Linked DNA regions of Homo sapiens: all the other regions are linked to region 4. Evidence: promoter capture Hi-C in 16 types of primary human blood cells and fetal thymus (Javierre and others, 2016). All regions are on one chromosome and are shown on one strand. Each heading gives the region's core, a stretch centred on a gene start or on the middle of the fragment in contact. The rest is flanking DNA. Distances are from core to core; before and after follow the strand shown. Region 1 overlaps OR1M1 (olfactory receptor family 1 subfamily M member 1). Region 2 overlaps MUC16 (mucin 16, cell surface associated). Region 3 has its middle 2.5 kb from the start of OR7G3. Region 4 holds the start of ACTL9 (actin like 9).

What was found. Contacts are between HindIII fragments. The CHiCAGO score rates a contact against its expected background, and 5 or more counts as called.
Region 1: a fragment that was not itself captured here is called in contact with the fragment with the promoter of ACTL9 in region 4 in 3 of 17 cell types (endothelial precursors, M2 macrophages and erythroblasts); the score reaches 8.5 in endothelial precursors.
Region 2: a fragment that was not itself captured here is called in contact with the fragment with the promoter of ACTL9 in region 4 in 1 of 17 cell types (M2 macrophages); the score reaches 6.5 in M2 macrophages.
Region 3: a contact is called between a fragment that was not itself captured here and the fragment with the promoter of ACTL9 in region 4, in 1 of 17 cell types (endothelial precursors). The highest score is 6.4, in endothelial precursors.

What each region holds. Positions count from the first base shown.
Region 1 is chr19:9,093,673-9,096,965 of GRCh38, reverse strand. OR1M1 (olfactory receptor family 1 subfamily M member 1) reads right to left here. Exons shown (of 2, transcript NM_001004456.2): 2 at 1,297-3,293. The coding sequence ends at 2,780. Among named protein-coding and RNA genes, the nearest start is that of OR1M1, 8.3 kb to the right of the region's middle. The HindIII fragment of the contact is 2,582 bases long and covers 325-2,906 here.
Region 2 is chr19:8,993,064-8,995,928 of GRCh38, reverse strand. MUC16 (mucin 16, cell surface associated) reads left to right here. Exons shown (of 94, transcript NM_001414686.1): 3 at 1,821-1,934. Among named protein-coding and RNA genes, the nearest start is that of MUC16, 71 kb to the left of the region's middle. The HindIII fragment of the contact is 6,614 bases long and covers 1-2,865 here.
Region 3 is chr19:9,122,969-9,125,853 of GRCh38, reverse strand. No RefSeq gene overlaps it. Among named protein-coding and RNA genes, the nearest start is that of OR7G3, 2.5 kb to the left of the region's middle. The HindIII fragment of the contact is 3,883 bases long and covers 1-2,885 here.
Region 4 is chr19:8,697,535-8,700,577 of GRCh38, reverse strand. It overlaps ACTL9 (actin like 9), which reads left to right and starts at 1,783. Exons shown (of 1, transcript NM_178525.5): 1 at 1,783-3,043. The coding sequence starts at 1,877. The HindIII fragment of the contact is 13,278 bases long and covers 1,540-3,043 here.

The DNA of each region.
Region 1 (3,293 bases), core at 366-2,865, 400 kb before region 4:
GCCCCCTGGGTTCAAGTGATTCTCCTGCCTCAGCCTCTCCAGAAGCTGGGATTACAGGAGTGCGCCACCACGCCCAGCTAATTTTTGTATTTTTGGTAGAGACAGGGTTTCACCATGTTGGCCAGACTGCTTTTGAGCTCCTGACCTCAGGTGATCTGCCTGCCTCAGCCTCCCAAAGTGCTGGGATTATAGGCGTGAGCCACTGAGCCCAGCCTAGAGTCTGGGTAATTTATAAAGAAAAGAGGTTTATTTGTCTCACAGTTCTGCAGACTGTACAAGAAGGGTGGTGCCATCATCTACTTCTGGTGCAGACCTCAGGAAGCTTCCAATCACGGTGGAAGGGCAAGGGGAGCTGGCAAGTCAAATGGTGAGAGAGGAAGAGAGAGAGGGGAGGAGTGCCAGGGTCTTTGTGAAGTAGTAGAGCAAGAACTTCCTCATTACTATGGGGAGGGCACTAAATTCTTCATGATGAATCTGCCCCCATAATCAAACACCTCTGCCTAGGCCTCACCTCCGACACTGGGGATCACATTTCAACATAAGATCTGGAGGAGAGAAACATCCACATTATATCAACTTGAGACACTTCAACTTATTTATTTATTTATTTATTTATTTTGAGACAGTCTCGCTCCATCCCTTAGGCTGAAGTGCAGGTTGCAGTGGTGCCATCTCGGCCCACTGCAACCTCCGCCTCCCAGGTTCAAGTGATTCTCCTGCCTCAGCCTCCCGAGTAGCTGGGATTACAGGCACGCCCCACCACACCTGACTAATTTTTATATTTTTAGTAGAGATGGGGTTTTGCCATGTTGGCCAGGCTGGTCTTGAACTCCTGACCTCAGGTGATCTGCCTGCCTTGGCCTCCCAAAGTGCTGGGATTACAGGTGTAAGCCACAGCACCCGGGACACTTCTGCTTTATTAGTGACTCATATAAAGACAAGGGGTAAAAACAATGATTGGGCCAGGCGTGGTGGCTGATGTCTGTAATCCCAACATTTTGGGAGGCCAAGGCAGGTGGATCACCTGAGGTCAGGAGTTCAAGACCAGCCTGGCCAACATGGTGAAATCCCGTCTCTACTAAAAATACAAAAAAACTAGCTGGGTGTGGTGGTGCGCTCCTGTAGTCCCAGCTACTGGGGAGGCTGAGGCGGAGAATTGCATGAACCCAGGAGGTGGAGGTTGCAGTGAGCTGAGATAGTGCCACTACACTCCAGCCTGGGCAACAGAGTGAGACTCTGTCTCAAAAAAAAAAAAAAAAAATTTTGGCCAGGTGTGGTGGCTCACACCTGTAATCCCAGCATTTTGAGAGGCTGAGATGGGAGGATGGCTTGAGCTCAGGAGTTTGAGAGCAGCCTGGACAACATAGTGAGACCCCATCTCTACCAAAAAAATATATACAAATAAAAATAAATTAGCCGGGCATGGTGCTGCATGCCTCTGGTCCCAACTACTTGGGAGGCTGAGGTGGGAGGACTGCTTGAGCCCAGGAGGTCAAGACTGCAGTGAGCTATAATCATGCCGCTGCACTCCAGCCTGGGCAACAGAGCCCCAGAATGATTATCTTTCCTAACGGAGTTTGGAGACAGAGTCGGTCCAGCCACAGAACCACATGGCGGCATTTCACTCCTTCACGTGTTGACATCTTCCTAAGACTCCTCCCCTCACAGTCACTGTGTTATTCGGCCAGGGCTGGTTATAACAAAACACCGCAGACTGCGTGGCTAAATAAGTGAAGTGGATTGTCTCATGGTTCTGAGGGTCAGAAGCCCAAGATCGACGTGCCGTTGGGATTGGTTTTTGGTGAAGTCTTTCTTCCGTGGCAGATAGACCCCCTTTCGCTGTGTCCTCAAATGGCCTTTCCAGCCAGGCTTGGTGGCTCACGCCTGTAATCCCAGCACTTTGGGAGGCCAAGGTGGGTGGATCATTTGAGGTCAGGAGGTCGAGAACAGCCTGGCCCACATGGTAAAACCCTGTCTCCACCAAAAATACAAAAATTAGCCGGGTATGGTGATGGGTGCCTGTAGTTCCAGCTAGTCTGGAGGGTGAGGCAGGAGGATCACTTGAACCCAGAGGCGGAGGTTGCAGTGAGCAGAGATCATGCCATTGCACTCCAGCCTGGGTGACAGAATGAGACTCTGTCTCAAAAACAAAAAAGAAAACAAAAAGAAAAACAGTTACCAGACCATCCTGAGACTTCCCGTGAAACTTCTGCGGCTGGGTAGTATGGCAAAACCCTGTCTGTACAAAAGATACAAAAATTAGCTGAGCATGGTGGTATGTGCCTATGGTCCTAGCTACTCGGAAGGCTGAGGTGGGAGGATTGCTTCAGCCAGGGAGGTCAAGGCTGCAATGAGCCGTGATCATGCCACTGCACTCCAGCCTGGGCAACAGAACGAGACTCTGTCTCAAAAAACAAAAACAAACAAAAAATTCAAAGTGAGGCTCGGCGTGGTAGCTCACACCTGTAATCCTAGGATGTTAGGAGGCTGAGGGGGAAGTACTGCTTGAGCCCAGGAGTTCCAGACCAGCCTGGCCAAATTAGTGAGACCCTGTCTCTAGTAAAACAATGCACACAGAGAGAGAAGTTTGAAGCTGCAGTGATCTATGATCACGCCACTGCACTCCAGCACGGGCAACATAGTGAGACCCCATCTCTAAATAATAATAATAATAATAAAATTCAAAGTGCCTACTCTTCAACTCATGCAATTCCAGATGTTAGCCCAAGACTCCCAGATGTATATATTCTACCCCCCAGAAGTTCCTGAGTCCTGGTGGTCAGGAAGATGAGGTGATCTTTCTGTTGACCAGCTTCCTGAGAGCCCCTTTCAGGTCTCTGTTCCTCAAGCTGTAGATGAAGGGATTCAGCATGGGGGTGACTGCTGTGTACATCACCGCAGAAGCTTTCTCCTTCACAGTGGTGAGGACCGAGGAGGGACACAGATAGACGCCAATGGTGGTCCCATAGAAGAGAGCAACCACAGACAGGTGGGAGCTGCAGGTGGAGAAGGCTTTCTTCCTGCCGCCTGCAGAGGGGACCTTCATGATGGCCACAAGGATGCGAGCATAGGAGGCCAGGATGCAGACAAAGGGCGTGGCTATCACCATCCCTGCCACAATGAGGATGAAGATCCTATTCACAGAGGTGTCCGTGCACGAAAGTCGGAGGATGGGAGTGAGGTCGCAGAAGTAGTGAGGCACCTCATGGCTGCCGCAGAAAACGAGACGGGCCATCAGGAGGATGTGAGTGAGTGAGATGAAGCAGGAAAACGCCCAGAGGGCGCCGACCAGC
Region 2 (2,865 bases), core at 78-2,577, 300 kb before region 4:
GACTTTAATCTCCTTGGCTGCAGTGAGAAAATGGGAGCTCAGTCTTAAATCCATCTCCCTGACCAACTAAAATTACAGGTTTATATAGCAGGGAAGAAATGTGACTACGTGTAGTAAAACAGGAAATCAAGAGGGGTCAGGAAGCAATCATGAGGAATGAGGGGTCTGACATCTCATTGTCTGGATATGATGATCTGCTGAGTTTCTTTTCTTTGATACTTTTTGAGAGGACTGGGGGTCCTTTAATGAGGAAGGAACTCAGATAAAACAAATGTAAGTTTCCCACAGAATGGGAGAAAATATTTGTAAACTATGCACCTGACAAAAGTCTAATATCCAGCATCTATAGAGAACTTAAGTAAATTTACAAGAGAAAAACAAACAACACCATTAAAAAGTGGGCAAAGGCCGGGCACGGTGGCTCACAACTGCAATCCCAGCACTTTGGGAGGCCAAGGCGGGCAGATCACTATGTCAGGAGTTCGAGACCAGCCTGACCAACATGGTGAAACCCTGTCTCTACTAAAAATACAAAAATTAGCCGGGCACGGTGGTGCACGCCTGTAATCCCAGCTACTCAGGAGGCTGAGGCAGGAGAATCACTTGAACCTGGGAGGCGGAGGTTGCTGTGAGGCGCGATCACTACTGCACTCCAGCCTGGTCGACAGAGTGAGACACTGTATCAAAAAAAAAAAACCAAAAAACAAAAAAAACAGACACTTTTTGAAAGAAGAGATACATGTAGCCAAGAAGCATATGAAAAAAATGCTCACTATCACTGATCATTAAAGAAATGCAAATCAAAACCACAATGAGATAGCATCTCACCATAGTCAGAATGGCTATTATTAAAAAGTCAAAAAATAACAGATGCTGGCAAGGTTGTGGAGAAAATTGAACATTTATACACTGTTGGTGGGAGTGTAAATTAGTTCAACTATTGTGGAAAGCAGTGTGGCAATTCCTCAAAGAGCTAAAAGTAGAACTACCATTTGACCCAGCAATCTCATTATTGGGTATATACCCAGAGAAATATAAATCATTCTACCATAAAGACATATACACGTGAATGTTCATTGCAGCACTATTCCCAATAGCAAAGACAATGGAATCAACCTAAACGCCCATCAATGACAGATTGGATAAAGCAAATGTGATACATATACACCATGGAATACTATGCAGCCATAAAAAAGAACAAGATCATTGCTTTTGCGGGAACATGGATGGGGCTGGAGGCCATTATCCTTAGCAAACTAACCCAGGAACAGAAAACCAAATATTGCATGTTCTCACTTAGAAGTGGGAGCTAAATGATGATAACTCATGAACACAAAGAAGGGAATAAAAAACACTGGGGTCTACTTCATGGTAAGCGTTAGGAGGAGAGAGAGGAGCAGAAAAAATAACTATTGGGTACTAGGCTTCATACCTGGGTGATAAAATCATTTGTACAACAAACCCCGTGACATGAGATTACCTATATAACAAACCTTCACACGTAGCCCCAAACCTAAAATAGTTAAACAATAACAAATGTCAGTTTCAAGTATTTAAATAGGTATATAAATACTGTCTATGAGACTATCGGGTTGGTTTCAGAATCAGCTGTCGTATAAAAGGTGCTCAAGACATATTTGCTGGTTGGATGAATGAGTGACTGAGGGTCTGGAATAAATATTAAATAAATGAAATGGTAAATGAACGAGTCACTATGCAGAGATTCCTATGGAAAGAAGAGCAAGTCCAGAAGAAATTTTTTTTTTATGTTTTTCGTTCTACTTCCTGCTGGGATAACCAACTTGGTTCTTCCTCCACAGGGCTGCCTTTCGACGCAGTGGTCTTTGCCCAAACCACAGACCAAGGAACACTTGGAGCCACCAGGCAGTTGACCCACGACCCTTCCTCCCCGGCGTCACTCATCAGCTCCGTGGGTAGGTAATAATAAAATAAATAATAATAATAATAATAATTAAATAATAATAAATAATAAAAACCAGTAACAGGCTGGGCGGTGGCTCACGCCTGTAATCCCAGCACTTTGGGAGGCTGAGGCAGGCGGATCACGAGGTCAAGAGATCAAGACCATTCTGGCTAACACAGTGAAACCCCATCTCTACTCAAAATACAAAAATTAGCCAGGCGTAGTGGCGCACACCTGTAGTCCCAGCTGCTTGGGAGGCTGAGGCAGGAGAATTGCTTGAACCCAGGAGGCAGAGGTTGCAGTGAGCCGAGATCACGCCATTGCACTCCAGCTTGGCGACAGTGCAAGACTCCGTCTCAAAACAAACAAACAAAAAACAAAAATAAAAAAACAAAATGACAACAAAAAACCGCCCCACCGCCCCAAAAAAAAACAGTAACAGGAGTTTATTAAGTCCTAATTCCTTCACCCTGCATGGTGGATCACATCACTGCATCATCTCAACAGCCCTCTGCTGTTATCCCCGTTGGGCATATGAGGAGACAAGGCTCAGAGAGGTTAAGTGACTTGCCCCAGATCACACAGTGAGTAATTGGGACTTGAGTCCCACTGAGTCCACTTCTTTCATTTTCCTCCCACTGTGCATTTTGTTTCCTGCTCTGGGAAGATTGCAATTGGCTTGATTTTAGGAAGGAAAGAAAATGAGTCTTCAAGAGATGATTTGGGCTGGGCACAGTGGCTCACACCTTGTAATCCCAGCACTTTGGTAGGCCAAGGCGGGTGGATCACTTGAGGTCAGGAGTTCAAGAACAGCCTGGCCAACATGGTGAAACCCCATGTTCTCTACTAAAAATACAAAAACTAGCCAGATGTAGTGGTGCCAGCCTGTAATCCCAGCTACTCAGGAGGCTGAGGCAGGAGAATCGTTTGAACCCAGGAGG
Region 3 (2,885 bases), core at 307-2,806, 430 kb before region 4:
AGACTGGAGTGTAGTGACGCAATCTTGGCTCACTGCAACCTCCGCCTCCTGGGTTCAAGCGATTCTCCTGCTTCAGCCTCCGGAGTAGCTGGGATTACAGGCACGTGCCACCAAGCCCAGCTAATTTTTCTATTTTTAATAGAGACGGGGTTTCACCACATTGGCCAGGATGGTCTCGAACTCCTGACCTCAGGTGATCTGCCCGTCTCAGCCTCCCAAAGTGCTGGGATTACAGGCATGAGCCACTGTGCCCCACCTGACCAATGTCTTTGAATACATGAGACCAGAGATCAGATGGTTCAGGGTGATAGTTTTGGAATCGGACCACGTGGACTTGAGTTCTTTTTGGATTGATTGACTGACTAATTGATTTTTGAGACAGTCTCTCACTTTGTTGCCCAGGCTGGAGTGCAGTGGTGTGATCACAGCTCACTGCTGCCTCGAATTCCTGGGCTAAAGCGATCCTCTGGACTCAGCCTGACGAGTAGCTGAGACTGCAGGTGCATGCCACCACACCTGGCTTTTTTTAAATTTTTGTATCAATGCATAAGAGATGTACATTGTTTCAGGATGCATGTGATAGTGTAATACATTTGTATAATCTGCAAGGATTTGTTACTTTAGATATCCATCACCTTAAATATTTGTCTTATCTTTATGCTCCAACCATTCCAATTGTTCTCTTCTAGGTATTTTGAAATATACAATGGATTATTTTGAACTATAGTCACCCTACTGGTCTATCCAATACTAAGTCTTTTTTTAAAAAAAATTAAATTTAATTAAAAATTTAAAAACTTATTTATTTATTTATTTATTTATTTATTTATTGAGACAGAGTCTTGCTCTGTCGCCCAGTCTAGAGTGCAGTGGCTCAATTTCGGCTTACTGCAACCTCCACCTCTGGGGCTCAAGCGATTCTCCTGCCTCAGCCTCCTGAATAGCTGGGATTACAGGCGCCTGCTACTGTGCCTGGCTCATTTTTGTATTTTTAGTAGAGACAGAGTTTCACCATGTTGGCCAGGCGGGCCTTGAACTCCTGACCTCAGGTAATCTGCCCGCCTCAGCCTCCCAAAGTGCTGGGATTACAGGCATGAGCCACCATGCCCAGCTAGCTAATTTATTTTTAATTTAAAAATTAAGTAATTTATTTACAATTTAAAAATCAAGTAATTAATTTTTAATTTTAATATTAAATGATTAATTTCTTTTTTAGAGAGAGCCTTGCTCTGTTGCCGAGGTTGAACTACAGTGGTGTGATTATAACTCACTGCAGCCTCAAACTCCTGGCCTCAAACAATCCTTCTGCCTCAGCCTTCCAAAGTGCTGGGATTAAGCAGTGTGAGCCACTGTGCCCAGGTCGCCTATACTTTAAATCATTTCTAGATTACTTATATTACCTAGCATAATGTTAATCCTATGTAAATAGTTGTATTACTTAATATTGTATTTTTGTAATATTCTTATTTAATATTTTTAAAATTTTCTTTAATATTTTTAATATTTTTGATCCACAGTTGGTTGAGTCCATGAATGTGGTACTGGCAGATATGGAAGGCTGACTGTACTTGGTATATATATTGTTAAAATTGTCAGAATCAAAATGGAGTCACTTATTAAAAAAAAAAAAGGCTGGGTGTAGCGGCTATCAAAAAAGTCTGCACTTTGATAGGCTGAAGTGGGCGGATCACAAGGTCAGGAGTTCGAGACCAGCCTGGCCAACATGGTGAAACCCCATCTCTATGAAAAATACAAAAATTAGCCAGACGTTGTGGCGCATATCTGTAATCCCAGCTACTCAGGAGGCTGAGGCATGAGAATCGCTTGAACCTGGGAGGCGGAGGTTGCAGTGAGCCAAGATCGCACCACTGCATTCCAGCCTGGGCGACAGAGCAAGACTCCATCTCATGAAAAACAAACAAACAAACAAAAATGAAAAAAACAAAAACATCCTGACAAGTAAAGCTAGGGAAGGCCATGAAGAGATTTATTTCACTTGCATGCCTAATAACAAAAACTATCACAAGACTACAAAAACTATCACGAGACGACAAAAACTATCACGAGACGACAAAAACCACAACCTTGCACAAAAGGCTGTTGCAACCTTACACAAAAAATATTTCTGCAAGTACATCTGCCCAGCAACTGCCTGTCCAGCTTCAGACTGGCATCACCCTTGTTATTAGTTATTACTGTGAAGGATAATTATTTCAAAACAATTATGTAACCTTCCTCATTTTTCCATTAAAAAACTTTGTCTTCCTTTACCTCCTTGAATGCATACATAGTTTATGATGGCACGCGTATCGCTATTGCAATGCTTTCTTTGGCAATAAACATCATTTTCTTTTAGATAGCCTCTTTCTGTTATTTAGGTTGACTATCTATAGTTATATTGATTTATGTTTGTGCTGTTGAATTTCAAAGGAATTGAAATCAATATGCTGAAGAGATATCTGCACTCTCATGTTCATTGCAGTATTAGTCACAATAGCCAGGAAATGTAATCAACCTGAATGTCCATCAACATATAAGTGGATAAAGAAAATGTGGTATGGCAGGCACGGTGGCTCACGCCTGTAATCCCAGCACTTTGGGAGCCTGAGGTAGGTAGATTACTTGAGGTCAGGAGTTCAAGACTAGCCTGGCCAACATGGTGAAACCGTGTCTCCACTAAAAATACAAAAATTAGCCAGGCATGATGACGTATGCCTGTAATCCCAGCTACTCAGGAGGCTGAGGCAGGAGAATCACTTGAACCCAGGAGGCGGAGGTTGCAGTGAGCCGAGATCGCACCACTGCACTCTAGCCTGGGCAACAGAGTGAGACTTTGTCTGGAAAAGAAAAAGAAAATGTGGTATATGATAGAGTACTATGCACCC
Region 4 (3,043 bases), core at 534-3,033:
ACCACACATACCAGTAAATCAATAATTAATTAAAATGCTCAATAAACCACACTCTGGCAGAGTAATAAATCTAGACACAACTAGAAAATTAAACCTCTTTCATTTAGATATCCCATAAGACATTCACTAGCACTATTCCTGGTGATTTCTACCACCACATGCATGAACATACACTAAGAAAAACGTTTTTATTTGCTTTAACTAACAGGTGATATCTGATATCACCAAAAACAGCCATGGTCTTGAAGCAACTCTCCTAATGCATTTTGAAGCCTGCTATTTATTGTTGAGATAATTCCTTCCTCCCAAATGCACCCTCTCCCCTTTTATCTATACTGAAACCCCTTCTTGTATCTCACTGAGCCCCTCTCCTGCCAGGAGGAAGCAGGTAACAACCCCTGGAGAGAAGGCAGACTTCCCCCATCCCTCATCTAGTTGGAGTACAGAGTAGAAATCAGGGTTGGCTTCCAGGAGGAGGTGGCATCAGACTGAGATTTGAAGAGGCAAATTCCTTCTTGGCAGGAATGGGACAGGGAGAATGATTCAGGCAGTGAATATAGCAGAGGAAGCAAAGAATCTAGGACAGGGGTGTTCCTGTCTCTCCCTGCCTCTCTCCATCCCCAACCAAGGCTGGCCTCTGTCTCCATTTGGAAACCAGGAAGCCATGCTAGCCCGCCCCACCTTCTAATTAATATTCTGAGGAGGAATATTCTAATATTCTAGGGAGGCCTGTGGCAAGCTCTCTGCCACTAGGCTGTAAATAGCTTCATGGCGAGGTACCCAGAGGAGGATTCCTGGGTCTTCCTGAAAGCGTGGCCCAAAGAGTTAGAGAAACCAATTTTGCATGTTTTTAGTGAAACCATGCCCCAAAGAAATGTTTGAGCTTGCAGAATGGCAGATCAAAAAAGAAACAACTTGCTGAAATGCCTTCCACTTATGAGGGTTTTTTGTTTGTTTCTTTGTTTGTTTGTTTGTTTGTTTTGAGATGAGTCTCGCTCTGTCATACAGGCTGGAGTGCAGTAGCATGATCTTGGCTCGCTGCAACCTCCACCTCCCGGGTTCAAGAGATTCTCCTGCCTCAGCCTCCCTAGTAGCTGGGACTACAGGCATGTGCCACCATGCCTGGCTAATTTTTTTTCTTTTATTTTCTTTTTCTTTTGAGACAGAGTCTCACTCCATCCCCCAGCCTGGAGTGCGGTGGCATGATCTTGGTTCACTTCAACCTCCACCTCCTGGGTTCAAGTGATTCTCCTGCCTCAGCCTCCCCAGTAGCTGGGACCACAGGCATGCGCCACCATGCCAGGCTAATTTTTGTATTTTTTGGTAGAGACGGGTTTCACCATGTTGGCCAGGCTGGTCTCGAACTCCTGACCTCAGGTGATCTCCCACCTCGGTCTCCCAAAGTGCTGGGATTACAGGTGTGAGCCACAGCCCCCGGCCCCAGAACTTTTCTAATAAAATTACTGCCTTAAAGCCAGCTGAGAAACAGACTTGTGCTGGATTCCTAGCTCCCAGTGGGTTGACATGCAACAAAAAGCTTGTCTTTTCTCAAAAACCAGGTGCCATCGTATTAGCTTCTAGCGCATCCGACAGAAATGTGTTAAGAGGGCCCTGCTCTGAGATGCTCATCTCCTCCTCCAAATTTGGCTCTTCAGAGAAGAGATGACAGCCTTTGGGCAGGCAGGGCTGGGCAGGGACCCATCCTCTTGGCTGCATTGTGATGTCTTAAGAAGACTGAAGGGGCACCGTGACGTCATAGATTGCGGGCCCACCCCTCCCCCTGTCTGCCTGCCCTCCCCACTGGCCGGGCCTCAACCTCTTCTCCCCGCAACCCCAACCCCAGAGGAAAAGCCCCCTCACCTGGCGTCCCGCAACCATGGATGCAAGTCGCCCCAAGTCCTCGGAATCCCAGTCCTCCCTGGAGGCCCCCAGGCCCGGCCCAAACCCCAGTCCCAACGTGGTGAACAAGCCCCTGCAGCGGGACTCCCCCGGCATGGTGGCCGACAGGCTGCCACCAAAGACCGGCGCGGTGGTTATTGACATGGGCACAGGCACCTGTAAGGTAGGTTTTGCTGGGCAGGCCAGCCCCACCTACACCGTGGCCACCATCCTGGGCTGCCAGCCCAAGAAACCCGCCACCTCGGGGCAGTCCGGGCTGCAGACGTTCATCGGCGAGGCAGCCCGCGTGCTCCCAGAGCTGACGCTGGTGCAACCCCTGCGCAGCGGCATCGTCGTGGACTGGGATGCCGCCGAGCTCATCTGGCGCCACCTGCTGGAGCACGACCTCCGAGTGGCCACCCACGACCACCCGCTGCTGTTCTCCGACCCACCCTTCAGCCCGGCCACCAACCGCGAGAAGCTAGTGGAGGTGGCCTTCGAGTCGCTGCGCTCCCCAGCCATGTACGTGGCATCGCAGTCGGTGCTGTCTGTCTACGCCCACGGTCGTGTCAGCGGGCTGGTGGTGGACACGGGACACGGGGTCACCTACACAGTGCCCGTCTTCCAGGGCTACAACCTGCTCCACGCCACGGAGCGTCTGGACCTGGCGGGCAACAACCTGACCGCCTTCCTGGCGGAGATGCTGCTCCAGGCCGGCCTGCCCCTGGGACAGCAGGACCTGGACCTAGTGGAGAACATTAAGCACCACTATTGCTACGTGGCCTCCGACTTCCAGAAGGAGCAGGCCCGGCCGGAGCAGGAGTACAAGCGGACTCTGAAGCTGCCCGATGGGCGCACGGTCACCCTGGGCAAGGAGCTGTTCCAGTGTCCGGAGCTGCTGTTCAACCCCCCAGAGGTCCCGGGGCTGTCACCCGTCGGCCTCTCCACCATGGCCAAGCAGAGTCTCCGCAAGTTGTCACTGGAGATGCGCGCGGACTTGGCCCAAAACGTGCTTCTCTGCGGTGGGTCCTCGCTCTTCACCGGCTTCGAGGGTCGCTTCCGGGCAGAGCTGCTGCGCGCTCTGCCAGCCGAGACCCACGTGGTGGTGGCTGCCCAGCCCACCAGGAATTTCTCCGTATGGATCGGGGGCTCCATCCTGGCCTCC